Linked DNA regions of Homo sapiens: region 2 is linked to region 1. The links are contacts of gene promoters, found by promoter capture Hi-C in human tissues and cell types (Jung and others, 2019). All regions are on one chromosome and are shown on one strand. The core of a region is centred on a gene start or on the middle of the fragment in contact, and the rest is flanking DNA. Distances in the headings are between cores, read along the strand shown.

What was found. The method cuts DNA at HindIII sites, captures the fragments that hold promoters and counts their contacts. A contact is called where the count stands out against the background at its distance.
Region 2: a fragment that was not itself captured here is called in contact with the fragment with the promoter of GPR135 in region 1 in 2 of the 25 tissues and cell types used here (mesenchymal stem cells and mesendoderm cells).

The regions. Positions count from the first base shown.
Region 1 is chr14:59,464,020-59,466,817 of GRCh38, forward strand. GPR135 (G protein-coupled receptor 135) reads right to left here and starts at 1,361. Exons shown (of 1, transcript NM_022571.6): 1 at 1-1,361. The coding sequence starts at 1,207. It also overlaps a transcript of L3HYPDH not described here. RefSeq lists a silencer at 892-1,431. The HindIII fragment of the contact is 12,129 bases long and covers 1-2,798 here.
Region 2 is chr14:58,460,274-58,463,071 of GRCh38, forward strand. KIAA0586 reads left to right here. Exons shown (of 31, transcript NM_001329943.3): 14 at 713-887. Among named protein-coding and RNA genes, the nearest start is that of KIAA0586, 34 kb to the left of the region's middle. The HindIII fragment of the contact is 9,444 bases long and covers 1-2,798 here.

The DNA of each region.
Region 1 (2,798 bases), core at 111-2,610:
CGCGGTTGCGCCCTAGGAGCATCGAAATGTTGGGATTGCGGATGGCGTAGATGACAGGGTTGATGGCCCCATTGGCCCAGGTCAGCCAGACGGCCACCACGCTGAGGAGCGAGGGGGCCTGCATGGTCTGGGCCTGCCGGGCGGCGGCCAGCAGCACCAGGAAGCAGTAGGGCCCCCAGCAGCAGATGACGAAGACGATCATGATGAGGACGGTGGTGGCCGTGCGCACCTCGCTGAAGAAGCGCAGCACGCGCGCGTAGGTGTTCACCGGCCGCACGCGCACGTCCGACAGGCGCACCGTCTTGCAGATGTGGTAGTGGCAGAAGCACATGAGCAGGAAGGGCAGCAGGTAGCAGGCCACCACCAGCCCCACGCTGAAGGCCGCGCCCAGCTGCGCGGGGTCCGGGGAGGTCCGGTAGAGGCAGCCGTGGAAGCTCTGCGCCGCCGCGAGTTCCCGGGGCGCCCCGAGCAGCTCCCAGGGCAAGGAGAAGCCCAGGGCCGTCAGCCAGGCGCCCGCCAGCAGCTGCAGCGCGCGGCGGCGGCCGATCTTCTCCCGCGGCGGCCGCACGATAGCGCAGTAACGGTCCAACGAGATGAGCGCCACGCTGAGCGTGGACACGATGCCGAAGCACGAGCTGAAGAAGCGGCTGGCGGCGCAGAAGCCGCGCCAGGGCCCCGCGGCGGCGGCAGGCGCCGAACCCCCGGGCGGAGTGAAGAGGTCCAGGAAGGCGGCGGGCAGGCAGAGCAGCGCCGTGAGCAGATCCGATAGGGACAGCGACAGGATGAAGGCGTTGGTGACGGTGCGGAGCTGCCGGTGCTTCACAATCACCCCCATCACCGCGCAGTTGCCAAGGCTAGACAGCAGGAAGATGAGCAGGAGGACGAGCGCCTGGGCCGCCACTGCAGCTCCGTGCGACAGCAGCGGCGCCGCCTCCGGGCCTAGCGGCCGCCTCACCGCCGCCCCCGCCTCCCGCGCTGCCCCGGACCCGCCAAGGCCGCCGCCACCGGGAGCGGCAGCTGTGCCGCCTCCGCTTGCGTCGCTCAGGTTCCCCAGCGCCGCGGTCGCCACGGTGCTGAAGGAGAGCACGGCCGCCGTGGCCGCGGAGGAAGTCCCGCCAGGTGGGCCGGCCGCGGAGGGGGCGCCGGAGTGCTGGCTGCCCAGTAAGGCCATGCTCGCTGGTGGGCGGGGCGGCTGCGGCTCCTCCATGGGGCCCAGTGGCGGCCGCGGATCTCCTCATCCCGCACCGGGGGCGGCGGCCGCTAGGTCGGAGTGGTGGCTCGGGGCCGGGGGCTAGCGGCCGCCGCGGGGAGCTGGGCTCGGCCGGAGGGGTGGCGGTCGCTGGGGACCTGGCGGAGCCTTTGACGTGGGTTCCAGCGTTGCCGAGGGAACCGCGTGTTTACGCAGGAGCGCGGGGCGGGACGGCAGCCCAGTACCCGCTGCAAAGCCGACCCGCGACACCGCCACTCCGGAGGTTACCGGCCCGGGTGTTCGGGTTTCCGAGAGTGCCAGGTCGACCTCCTGAGGGACCAATGTCCGGCCAGATAAAGTGCCGACTGGCATGCAAACAAATGACCAGATTCAACGAAAGTTCACTCTTGCTCTCTTTTGTAGGGTACAAATGTTCTACAGGCAGGCCTTTTGGGGAGTGGTGGGGGGGGCACTCTGCTTCCTGTGGGTGCTTTTGGTATATACAGGTAGGAAAGGAATCTAGAAAGTGAAGTGAAAGAAAAATCCAGAAGTCTACATCCAGACATCTTAAACTTGAGAAGCAGACTAATTTAAACCAGTAATTCTCAAACTTGAGCTAACAGAATTCACATAGAGGGCGTGTTAAAATACAAGTGACGAGGTCTGAACCCCAGCGTTTCGAATATGTCTGGGGAAGTACCCAAGAATTTGTATCTCTAACGGGTTCGCGGGTGGTGATGATGATGCTGGTCCCAGGACCACACTTACAGAAGCACTGATGTCAAGAGTTTCATAAAATGCAGATTCCCAGGCTGACAGAATTACTAAGGATGGGCCCATGACTCTAAACCCCGTAGGTGATTCTGATACAGGTGCTCTGAGGAGCTAGGATAGTTCCTTTAGATGTTACTTCATTTCCAAGGGCCTGGACCTCAGGCCCCTACTGGCTGATAAATGGGGGGAGAGGGATTGGTGCCTTGCCCTGCTAGCAGCCTTCATCTGTTCTCAGGAATGGGGTATGTTTTGAGTCTAAGGTGCTGCCAGCCTGGCAATCACCACAGATGCAGCTCCAGGTACCTGGCTGGGAGATACGGGGAAAAGAAAGGCAGGGCTACCCAGGGAAGTTGCATCTCAAGTTTCTGGGCATGGCCTCTAATGGGGAAAAGTGTGATAAACCCTCAGGTTAACTAACCCTGGGCTCTTCGCTAAAGCAGTGGTTCACAGAGTATGGACATTGGACCAGCAGCATCAACATCCCCTGGAAACCTTGAGAAATACAAATTATCAGGCCTACAGTGCATAGGATACCCCTGATCTACTGAAACTCCTGTGGTGGGGCCCAGGCACCTATGTTTTAACAAGCCCTCCCAGTGATTCTGATGCACAAATTTGAGAAACACTGCTCTAAAGAATGACTAGTATATTTGTAGATCTTAGAATCAATGGTATTAGTATTGGAGTGCTTATTTCATTCAGAAAAAATATCCTACAGGAAATTTACAGTATAAATAGAAGAACGTTTAAGGTGGCAAACCAAAACTGGGTTTGTCAGCCTAAGCGTCATGGACTTTTGGGCCAGATAATTCTTTATTGCAGGGGCCATCTATAC
Region 2 (2,798 bases), core at 213-2,712, 1.0 Mb before region 1:
ATGAGATCTCACACCCTGGCATCATGATTTTGTAGTTATAGCAGGTATAAAGGTATATCTAGAGATCATCTAGTCCAAAAACTAGATTCTCTAGTTTATGGTACTCAAAATTTTCATTTGCGTGTGTGTATATAGTTTATTTTTCAGTTTAACAAATGCATGTTTAGTGCCTAGTATATGCAAGGCGTGGTACTAGATGGTATGGAGGAAATTTTTTTGACTGCTGTAACTAGGCTATAAGTTTCTAAGTGCCAAACATGGATTGTTGAGCAGATCAGTAAAGCATCTAATTCAATGCTTATACTTAGTAGATTCTCAGTAAATGCTCCCTTTCTGTGACATTTAGATTATGGTTGAAGGTGGGTTCAGAAATATATAAAATTATTTAAAGGTTAAGGTTGTTGTATTTTTATTGTACTGGAGTATAATAAATATGTAAAATGTGTTTAAATGTTTCTTGTTGGTGCTGAAAATATACTTAGTAATGTAAAAATTTTCATGTTTCTTAGGTGGATGATTTTTATATTTAAAGCTTTTCAAACTAATGCTTGAAACCTGTTATCTAGAATTTAAGGGCTGTTGAAAACAGAGGTTATTTTTTACTTAATCATTCTTGTTATAATACTTAAGCTAGCAAAAGGAGGCTTTAGAAAAATGAGATAAGTGTTTGATGACTGTTTTCATGGTGAGTTGAATAACTTTGTACACACAGGGGCTTTTGAAAGCAACCACAGTAATACAAGATGAAGATTATATGTTACAAGTCTATGGAAAGCCAGTTTATCAGGGCCATCGAAGCACTCTTAAAAAAGGACCATATCTCAGATTTAATTCTCCATCTCCTAAGTCCAGACCACAGAGACCAAAAGTAATAGAACGAGTTAAAGGTAAGGAATCTCATTTTTAATGTTTAATCTCATTTCTTAATAGTATCAGTTTAATATGTAAAGTTTCTTTTTGCTTTTTATTTATTGCTTATACGTGCCATTCAAGTTATATGATGCTTGGGGATGGAAAAATAATTCCTCTTAGGAGAGGTAGGAAGAAATAGACCAACATTTTAAAAAAGACACAAGATAGGAATAATTGGGAAGAAATGTAGGATTAAATGGCATCTTCAGATAAAGCATCATAAAATTTTTATTTAGGAGAAAATGATTTTTTTTTTAATTTTTTTTTTAGACAAGGTCTCACCCTATCCCCCAGGCTGGAATGCAGTGGCACAATCATGGTTCACTGCAGCCTCGACCTACTGGGCTCAAGTGATCCTCCCCTCTCAGCCTCCCAAGTAGCTGGGATGACAGGTGCACACTACCACGCCTGGCTAATTTTTTTGTATGTTTTATAGAGACAGGGTTTCACCACATTGCCCACAGTGGGTGATGATGAATCTTGAGCATCTAAATTATAATCTAGGAAAGTAGACATTTTCCTGAAGACCTAGGTGCATTATGAACAGAAAGATCAGCCATTTGCTGTTTATTATAAAAGTGTTGATGAGCACTTTTGCAGTTTGGTTTTCAAAGAGACTTAGGTAGAAAGGTGAAAACTTTTTTGTTGCTTTTGTGCACAACTGAAAACATCTTCATGTATCACTGTGTATTTTGAGTCACATCTACTGTTTCACTGGTACTGTGTATTTAAATACAACTTTTGGTTATATACTGAGTCTGTTGACTTTGGTTATGTATTATAGTTTCTCAGCTTCTGCTTAGCAATCAGTAAGCTACAGCTGACAATATGTGATAACTAGTAGATACAAACCCATTTTCCTCTCTTATCCTTTCTAGAAGTTGGAGCTATGGTGGTTACTTTGGTTCCCTTTGCTTTCTAAAGGTTATGCAATCATATACAGTGTCAGGTTATATAGAAATTTTACTAATTTAAAATAGAAAGCATATAGCTTATGGGTGATATTTATCCTAATGGATGGTATTTACCCTGAAGTTTTCTCTTATTTAGTGTAGTTTTGCTTTTTTTTTTTTTTTTTTTGAGACGGAGTCTTGCTCTGTCATCCAGGCTGGAGTGCAGTGGCACAGTCTTGGCTCACTGCAACCTCCACCTCCCGGGTTCAAACGATTCTCCTGCCTCAGCCTCCCGAGTAGCTGGGATTACAGGCATGCGCCACAATGCCCAGCTAATTTTTTTTTTGTATTTTTAGTAGAGACAGGGTTTTGCCACATTGGCCAGGCTCGTCTTGAACTCCTGACCTCAGGTGATCCACCCGCCTCAGCCTCCCAGAGAGCTGGGATTACAGGCGTGAGCCACTGTGCCCGGCCTAGTGTAGCTTTGCTATTAATTTATATGGGGGGTTTTGAAAGTCTTTGCAAAAAATAATTTGAGGCTTTAAAATGCTTTCAAATCCAAAAATAACTTTATTCAATAACGCTTTTAATGATCAGAAGTGATTAAGAGCCTGTATTAGTTCATTTTCACACTGCTATAAAAAACTACCTGAGACTGAGTAATCTATAAAGACAAGAAGGTGTAATTGACTCACAGCTCCACATCTCTGGGGAGGCCTCAGAAAACTTAGAGTCATGGCGAAGGGAAGCAAGGCATGTCTTATATGGCAGCAGGAGAGAGGGAGCAAAGAAAGCCATGCCCTTTTAAAGCATCAGATCTCATGAGAACTCATTCACTATCACAAGAACAAATTAGGGGAAACTGCCCCCATGATCCAGTCATCTCCCACCAGGTCTCTCCCGTGACGCATGGGGATCAATTTGAGATGAGATTTGGGTAGGGACACAGAGCCAAGCCATATCAGAACCTAAGGACTTATGCTTATCCTAGGG